Linked DNA regions of Homo sapiens: region 1 is linked to region 2. The links are contacts of gene promoters, found by promoter capture Hi-C in human tissues and cell types (Jung and others, 2019). All regions are on one chromosome and are shown on one strand. The core of a region is centred on a gene start or on the middle of the fragment in contact, and the rest is flanking DNA. Distances in the headings are between cores, read along the strand shown. Region 1 has its middle 24 kb from the start of IGFL3. Region 2 holds the start of IGFL2 (IGF like family member 2).

Region 1 (4,799 bases), core at 983-3,482, 48 kb before region 2:
TGGTTTTGAGTGAGTTTTTAAACCTTGAGTTCTAATTTGATTGCACTGTGGTCTGAGAGACTGTTGTGATTTCAGTTCCTTTGCATTTGCTAAAGAGTGTTTTACTTCCAATTATGAGATCAGTTTTTGAGTAAGTGCCATGTGGCACTGAGAAGAATGCTTATTCTGTTGTTTTGGGGTAGAGAGTTCTGTAGATATCTATCAGGTCCACCTGATGCAGAGCTGAGTTCAAGTCCTGAATACCCTTGTTAATTTACTGTCTTAATGATAGTCTGATATTGACAGTGGGTGTTAAAGTCTCCCGCTATTATTGTGTGGGAGTCTAAGTCTCTTTGTAGGTCTCTAAGAGCTTGTTTTATGAATTTGGGTGCTCTTGTATTGGGTGCATATATATTTAGGATTGTTAGCTTTTCTTGCTGTATTGATCCCTTTACGATTATGTAATGCCCTTCTTTGTCTTTTTTGAACCTTGCTGGTTTAAAGTCTGTTTTGTCAGAAACTAGGATTGCAACCCCTGCTTTTTCCTGCTTTTCATTTGCTTGGTAAATTTTCCTTCATCCCTTTATTTTGAGCCTATGTGTATCATTGCATGGAGATGGGCTTCTTGAATCTTGAATACAGCACACCAATGGGTCTTGACTCTTTATCCACATTGCCAATCTGTGTCTTTTTTTTTTTTTTTTTTTGAGATGGAGTCTCGTTCTGCCACCCAGGCTGGAGTGCAGTGGTATGATCTCAGCTCACTGCACTTCTGCCTCTTGGATTCAAGTGATTCTCCTGCGTCAGCCTCCCAAGTAGCTGGGACTACAGGTGCATGCCACCATGCCTGGCTAATTTTTGTATTTTTAGTAGATATGTGGTTTCACCATATTGGTCAGGCTGGTCTCGAACTTCTGACCTCAGGTGATCCACCCGCCTCGGCCTCCCAAAGTACTGGGATTACACAACATGCATGAACCACTGTGCCAGGCCCAATCTGTGTCTTTTAATTGGAGCATTTAGCCCATTTACATTTAAGGTTAATATTGTTATGTGTGTTTGATCCTGTCATCATGATGCTAGCTGGTTATTTTGCAGACTAGTTGATGCAGTTTCTTCATAGTGTCGTTGGTCTTTGTACTTCAGCATGTCTTTGCAGTGGCTGATAGTGGTTTTTCCTTTCCATATTTAGTGCTTCCTTCAGGAGCTCTTGCAAGGCAGGCCTGGTGGTGATGAATTCTCTCAGCATTTGCTTGTCTGAAAAGGATTTTATTTCTCCTTTGCTTATGAAGCTTAGTTTAGCCAAATATGAAATTCTGGGTTGGAAATTATTTTCTTTAAGAATGATGAATATTGGCCTCCACTCTCTTCTGGCTTGTAGGGTTTCTGCTGAGAGGTCCACTGTTAGTCTGATGGGCTTCCCTTTGTAGGTGACCTGGCCTTTCTCTCTGGCTGTTTTAACATTTTTTCCTTCATTACATTCTTGGAGAATCTGATGATTATGTGTCTTTGGGTTGATCTTCTCATGGAGTATCCTACTGGGATTTTCTGGATTTCCTGAATTTGAATGTTGGCCTCTCTTGCTGGGTTGGGGAAGTTCTTCTGGATGATAGCCTGAAGTGTGTTTTTCAACTTGGTTCCTTTCTCCCCATCTCTTTCATGTACTCCTATCAGTCATAGGTTTGGTCTTTTTACATAGTCTCATAGTTCTCGGAGGTTTTGTTTGCTCTTTTTCTTTCTTTCTTTTTTTTTTTTTGAGACGGAGTCTCACTCTGTCACCCAGGCTGGAGTGCAGTGGCACAATCTCAGCTCACTGCAACCTCTGCCCCCCGAGTTCAAGTGATCTCCTGCCTTAGCCTCCCAAGTAGCTGGTATTACAGGCGCCTGCCACTGCGCCTGGCTAATTTTTGTATTTTTAGTAGAAACGGGGTTTCACCATCTTATCCAGGCTGGTCTTGAACTCCTGACCTCGTGATCCACCTGCCTCAGCCTTCCAAAGTGCTGGGATTACAGGGATGAGTCACCGAGCCTGTGCTTGTTCATTCCTTTTCATTCTTTTTTTCTCAGTCTTGTCTGCTTGCCTTATTTCAGCAAGATAGTATTCAAGCTCTGATATTTATCCTTCTGCTTGATACCTGTGTTCGCATCACGAAGTTCTTGTGCTGTGTTCTTCAGCTCCATCGGGTCATTTATGTTCCTCTCTAAACTGGTTATTCTAGTTAGCAGCTCCTATGACCCTTTATCATGGTTCTTGGCTTCTTTGCATTGGGTTAAACATGCTCCTTTAGCTTAGCAAAGTTTATTACCTACTTTCTGAAGCCTTCTGTCAACTCATCCATCTCAGCCTCCACCCAGTTCTGTACCCTTGCTGGAGAGGAGTTGTGATCATTTGGAGGAGGAGAGGCACTCTGGCCTTTTCAGTTTTCAGCGTTTTTTCATTGATTCTTTCTCATCTATATGAGTTTGTCTAGTTTCAATCTTTGAGGCTGCTGACTGTTAATCAAGGAAAATGACAAGAAAAGTCTCAATCATTTTAGGAGATTTATTTGCCAAAGTTAAGGATGCACCCGGGAAACAGGTCTATGCCTTTCTCTGAAGATGATTTTAAGGGCTCCAAATTTAAAGGGGAAAGGGTGGGATATTGAGAAGTATACAGTTTTCATGCAAGTGAATCTGCATTTTTACATACAAGGACATAAAAGGGGCAGAGGAAAAATGTGGGGAATCAGCATTTTACATAAGATAACACAAACAGAATGTGGTAGGGAAACAATCAGATATGCATTAGTGTCTGTGGGCCAGGATGACAGCACCTGGAAAGATAAGCTATCAATTTGCATTGCCATGGTGAAGTTTTAACCATTCACTAGGAATATCCTTGTGGGCAAATATGGGGGAGGCATGTAGCTTTTCATCTTGTAGCCATCTTATTTAGGAACTGAAAGTGGGAGGCAAGTTTGCATGACCCAGTTCCCAGCTTGACTCTTCCTTTTAGCCAGATGCATTTGGGGTCCCAAAATTTAATTTCCTTTCAGTGTTTTTTTTCATTCATTCTTTCTCATCTTCATAAGTTTGTCTAGTTTGAGGCTGCTGACCTTTGGATGAAGTTTTTGTGGTGACTTCTTTGTTGATGCTGTTGTTGCTTTCTGTTAGTTTGTTTTTCTTTAACAGTCAGGCCCCTCTTCTGTAGGACTGCTGCAGTTTGCTGAGGGTTCACTTCAGGCCCTATTCACCTGGGTCCCTTCTGCAGCTGGAGATGTCACCCGAGGAAGCTGGAGAACAGCAAAGATGGATGCCTGCTCCTTCCTCTGGGATCTCTGTCCTCGAGGGGCACTGACCTGATGCTGGTAGGAACGCTTCTGTATAAGGTGTCTGGTGACCCCTGGTTGGTGGGGGTCTCACCCAGTCGCGGGGCACAGGATCCGGGACCCACTTAATGAAACACTCTAGTTGTCCCTTGGTGGAGGGGATGTGCTGTGCTGGGGGGAAACCCACTCATCTGGGCTGCCTGGATTCCTCAGAGCTAGTGGAGGAAAGTAAGTCTGCTGGTTTGTGAAGGCCATGGCCACCCCTCCCACTAGGGGCTCAGGCTCAGGGAGATCAGAATCTTTTCCCTAAGGCCCTGGCTGGGGTAGCTGAAGTTCCTGCAGGGAGGCCTCGCCCAGTGAGGAGGGATGGGTCAGGGTCCAGCCTAAAGAGGCAGAGTCCACAATCTGCCACAACTGGTGTGCTCCACTGTGGGGAATACCTTCTGGGTCCAAGACATCCAATCTCCCTGGCACCAGCAGGGGAAAAACGGCAGCCCCGAGCTGTAGTGATGGCTGTTGCCCTTCCCCAGTGGGGGTTCAGCCTTTTAGGCAGCCGCAGTGATGGGAGCTCAGACGTCGTAAGCAGCAGGCAGCTGCAGTTGCAGTGATGATGGCTGGCCCTCCTCCCCAGAACTCGGTAGTCTTAGGCAGACTCCGGCCCAACCGCTGTTGAGACTGTGCAGCTCTGTGGTTGGGACCTAAGGCCCTGGTGGTGTGGGCTCATGAGTGAGATCTCCTGATTCACAGGTTGCACATCCATGAAAAAAGCAGTTTCCAAGGCTAGGTAACATTGAGGTGGGCAAATAAAGAGAGAACGTTAGAGAGAGAAAAATAAGTTTAAAAAAGGCAAGCTTTCTGTACTATGCTGACACATCCCAAGGGCAGTAACAGGCATAGCCTGGACCCAGGTGAGGACCTGATAACATTATCTAAGTGGCTGGAGCTGGAAGGAATGTGCTCTGGAGACTTTCCCAGGGGTAACAAAGAAGTAAATTTTCCCTGTGTCTTTAGCATAAGTAAAAGTCCCTTTGAACCCCCTCCAGTGTGTGATTGTACCCACTCTGCAAGTTTTATGAGGTCCTGTTTTTCTGTAGCTAATTTCATGCGCGCGTCTGTGTGAAGAGATCACCAAACAGGCTTTGTGTAAGCAATAAAGCTTTTTAATCACCTGGGTGCAGGCAGCCTGAGTCCGAAAAGAGAGTCAGCAAAGGGTGGTGGGATTGTCATTAGTTCTTATACGTTTGGGATAGGCGGTGGAGTTAGGAGCAATTTTGTTGCGGGCAGCGGGTGGATCTTACAAAGTATATTCTCAAGGATGTGGAGAATATTACAAAGTACCTTCTTAAGTGTGGGGGAGAATATTACAAAGTACCTTCTTAATGGTGGGGAGGGTGTATAGTACAAAGTACATTCACAAAGGCAAGGGAATATCACAAAGTACATTATTGCGAGGGCGGGGAGGGTGTATTGTCACAAAGTCAATTGATCAGTTAGGGTGGGGCAGGAACAAAT
Region 2 (4,690 bases), core at 236-2,735:
TAAAGGAATACAATTGACTTCTGTGTGTTTCATACGCTACAACCTTTCTAAATTCACTTATCAGGTCCAGAACTCTTCTACTAACAATGCACTTTTATAAAGCCCTAACACCTCTCCTGATCTCTGTCTCACCCTCCCACCTATCTCACTGTGGGATGGGAAGGAAGTCAATGGAAAACACAGGAGCGCATTCTAATAATAGCCCACATGGTATCCAGTGACACAAATAATAGTGATGGTGACAATAAAATAACAGTAAGAAACACAGAAGGAGCGTTTCCTTGGACAAAGCACTCCAGAAACAACAACAAAAAGGGGCTGCCTTTCCATCTATTCTATGAATCCCAGATGTCTATTTTATCACTGTCTGTTCCTTTTCTGTTCTCCCTGGCAGGGTTTTTACAGCCCCTGCTCTTTTTCTAGATTATGCTGCATCTTCACAGTTTCCCCTAAATGACTCTGAAGAATTATAGACAGTGCTGTCTACAATTATAATAATGGATATGGTGGTCCATTTCCAAGACAAAGTACCTCAGATAGGCTGAGGCCCACAAACTATGGAAGGACAGAATATACTAGGCCCATAGCTGGTGCATGCTTGTCGGGGTCCCCTTAGTTACCCTCTCCCAAACCAGAGTTTAGTCTAGAATGAAAGTTTACTAGCCAGCAAAATAGCTCACTTTATCTATTCTTATCAGCTTGCCTGACTGCCTAGGTCATAAGTCAAATACTTGAAAAGCCCTCGAGCTGGCTTTGATTGCAATGTATTATAGGCTGCAACAAAATGCAGTGAGACAATCCTAAAGAAAACACCTAAAAGCCTCAACCCAGCAACCAATAGGCGACGTCTGGGAAGATCGTGACCCCATCGTACTTAGCCTACGAGGAACCAGGGGAGAGACTTGTGCACTAGGGGATAAATAGCTTGTTGTAACCGTACTGGGTGTGCCTGCCTACCAGACATTCAATCTTGCAAGACCATCATTAAAAGTCTTGCTTCCACTGTTTTCTGTGTCTCTGAGTCCATTCTTTGGGTTTGGACGGGTGCGTTTGTTTCTCATAGTGCAGGTCTGGAGCCGGACTGAGATGGGGAGTAGAGGGACCCCTTGAAACTTCAGGGTGGATGAATATGAAGTTTCATCACCAGCTGTGATGTTTGGTGAGTAGTATGCTCTCAGATAAGTGAGAGCCAAGGAATCTCTTTCAAGTCTCTTTGCCGTGGGCAGAGTTCAAAGAATGACACTCACTCACGGCTTTGAAAGGTTCTAGGGAAGCCTTTACTCTGAGATTTCGAGAGGTCTGAGAAGGTAGCAGTCACTTGGAACAGGTCCAGGAACATCTTACTAAGCTGTTGATGCAGTTTTTTCTTATGCTTTCTGTGGCTTCTCATGCCCCACCCTTTCCAAGAGGCCAGTGCTTCTGGGCACCTCCCTAAATGTGGATAAGTTCATAGCCTACATAAGTCCCTGTATAAAGTCACTGACCCATTTGCACTGCTGCTGTCCCATCAGCTGCTCTGAAGCTCCATGGTGCCCAGAATCTTCGGTAAGGTAACCCTTGCCCCAGGTTGAGCTAATGCCTACTGTTATCCCTAATGTACCTCTGAACCTCAAACTTAATTCTCTCTTCCCTATTTAATTCTTGGTTTCCCACCTCATAATCACCCGTGTCCTCTCTGACTGCATTGCAATCTCTCTTCCCCACCTGCAAATTCCAGAAGCTTAACCCTTTCCAGAGCCCTCCCTGCATTTCCTCACCTGCCAAGCCCAATGCCCAGAACCTGCACACAGAGTCAGTCCCAAAATCTGCTCTGAGCTGTTACAGCAACCAAAGAAACTCAGAGACATCATCTTGTGCCCCATGATCATGATCTGGTGACCCCAGAATCACTGTCATTCTTCTCTCAGCTGATCTTTATTTTTGAACTCCTGGGCTCAGACTCAGAAGGGACCATAGGTGAGAATGGGTGTGGTGAGTGGAGGGAGAAGAAAGGAGGGAGGATTATAGCACTGTGGATAGGGTTGGGGGCTCCCAGAGGTCCCCTGCCAGCTCATCAGCTCTGACTCTTCCAGATATTGGACTGTGGTTGTGCCAGTTGACACTCAGGAGTGGAGACTAGATCTGCAATCTGTTGGGACTGTGATGAGGGGATCATCCTGCCCTCGAACCAGACCCAGCCCTGTAGCCCAGGCACTATTGCCTGGAGTTCCTGGGCTCTCAGCGCCAGGAAATCATGAGGTTCAGTGTCTCAGGCATGAGGACCGACTACCCCAGGAGTGTGCTGGGTAAGTAAGGGCAGCCCAGGCAGTGGACTGAGTTTTGTTGTGTGTATTCCATCAAGATGAGCAATGCCTGCTGTGTTCACTAACTTCTTTTTGGGCAACCATCTCTCTCTCTCCCTCTCTCTCTTCTCTCTCTCTCTCTTCTCTCTCTCTTTCTCTCTCCCTCTCTTTCTCTCTCCCTCTCTTTTCTCTCTCTCCCTTTTCTCTCTCTCTCTCTTTCTCTTTCCCACTCACCCCTCACCCTTTCCACCTCTCCCCCTCTTCCCCTCTCCCCCTCCCCCTCCCCTCCCCATCTCCCTGTGTCCCTCTGTCTCACATCCCCCTCTCTTCTCTTCCCCTCTCCCCTCCCTGTCTTTTCCCTCCTCTCCTTCCTTCTCTTCCTTCCTCTCTCAAGTTGAAGGAAGAGTAGCTCAGTCATCTTCCAGAATTGCTTTTTACCTCCGAGTCACCTGGCTCCATAGCCCCCGACCACCGCATGCCCATTTAGCTGTTCCTCTCTTTCCCCTCTACCCTCACCCTTGGCAACCACCAGTCAGCTTTCTGTCTCTATGGATTTACCTATCTGGGACATTTCATATAAATGGAATCACACCATTTATAAGTGACCTTTCGTGTAACTTTTTTTTTAACTTAATGTTTTCAAGGCATATCCCCATTATAGAATTTATTAGTACTTCATTCCTTTTTACAACTGAATAAATTCAATTGTATCCATGTATCAGCATTCATTTATCCATTCATCTGTTGATGGACACTTGGGCTGTTTCCACCATTTGGCTATTGTGAATAGTGCTGTTACAAACATATGTATACATGTATTTGCTTGAGAACCTGTTTTCAGTTATCTTGGGTGTACACATAGGAGTGGAATTGCTACGCCACATGGTAATTCTGTTTAACTTTTTGAGGAATTGGCAAACTGTTTTCCACAGAGCTGCATCAATTACATTCCCACCAGCAGTGTATGAGGGCTCACATTTCTCTCCAGATTCTTCAACCTTTGTTATTTTCTATTTTCCTGTTTATTACAGTCATCTGGGTGGGTGGGTGTGATATCCTGTGTAGTTTTAATTTGCGTTTCCTTGGTAAATAACAATGCTGAGTGTCTTTTCCATGTGCTTATTGGCCATTTGTATTCCTTTTTGAGAAAAGGTTTATTCAGATTTTTCCATGTTTAAATTGGGTTATTTATTTTATTATTATTTAGTTGTAAGAGTTTTAGAAGATATGCTGGATACTCATCCCTTATCATATATATAATTTGCAAATACTTTCCTCATTATGTGGATTGTGTTCATTTCCTTGATGCTATTGCTTGCAGTGCATAGGTTTTTAATTTTTGATGAAGTCTATTCTTTCTTTTCTCTCTTGTGCTTTTGGTGTAATATCTAAGAAAATATTACCTAACTCGAGGTCATTAAGACTTACTTGTATGTTTTCTGCTAGGAATCTTTTTAAGAAGTTGACAAAGAATAATTGTGTATATTTATGGGGTAAAATATGATGATTTAATGTATGTTTGCCTTGTTAAATGATAAATCAAATTAATTACCATATCTACCACCTAATATACTTATTACTTTTTGTCACTAGAACATTTAAAATATACTCTTCAGCAATTTTGAAATATACAACACACCATTTGTTTTTTTAAGAGGCAGGGTCTCACTCTGATGCCCAGTCTGGAGTGCAGTGGTGTGATCACAGCTCACTGCACCCTCTACCTCTGAGGCTCAAGTGATCCTTCCACCTCAGCTCCCAAGTAGCTGAGACCACAGGCACGCACCACCACACCATGCTAATTTTGTTTTTCATAGAGACGATGTCTCACTGTGTTGCCCAGGCCGGTCTCCAACTTGTAGGCTCAAGCAACCCTCCTCCTTGGCCTCCCAAAGTGCTGGGATTGCAGGTATGAGCCATCACGTCCAGCCCACAATACACTATTATTTATTATAGTCACCGTGCCCTGCAGTGGATCTCTAAAACCTATCTTTCCTGTCTAACTGTAACTTCATATCATTTGCTTATCTCCCTGTTGCCCATCTGCCCACACCAATCCTCTGGTAACTGCCCTTCTCTCTACTTCTATGAGTTCAACTCTTTTAGATTCTACATACAAGTGAGATGGTGTGGTATTTGTCTTTCTGTGGGTTGCTTATTTTACATTTCTGCTAAGAGTTTTATATGTTCGCTCTTGTATTTAGGTCTGTGATACATTTTGAGTTAATCCTTGTGTATGGTATGAGGAAGAGATCCTCTTTCTGCCCACTCTTTTGTGTATGAATATACAGTTTTCCCAGCACCATTTGTTGAAAAATCATTTGTTCCCTTACTTCATAGTCCTAGCACTTTTGTTGAAATTTGATTTCAACAAATCTAAGGGTTTATTTTCTGACTGTTAGTTTTAT

The links. The method cuts DNA at HindIII sites, captures the fragments that hold promoters and counts their contacts. A contact is called where the count stands out against the background at its distance.
Region 1: a contact is called between a fragment that was not itself captured here and the fragment with the promoter of IGFL2 in region 2, in 4 of the 25 tissues and cell types used here (H1 embryonic stem cells, dorsolateral prefrontal cortex, mesenchymal stem cells and 1 more).

Annotation. Positions count from the first base shown.
Region 1 is chr19:46,097,812-46,102,610 of GRCh38, forward strand. It overlaps a transcript of IGFL2 not described here. Among named protein-coding and RNA genes, the nearest start is that of IGFL3, 24 kb to the right of the region's middle. The HindIII fragment of the contact is 4,115 bases long and covers 176-4,290 here.
Region 2 is chr19:46,146,753-46,151,442 of GRCh38, forward strand. IGFL2 (IGF like family member 2) reads left to right here and starts at 1,486. Exons shown (of 4, transcript NM_001135113.2): 1 at 1,486-1,545. The coding sequence starts at 1,527. The HindIII fragment of the contact is 7,392 bases long and covers 1-3,237 here.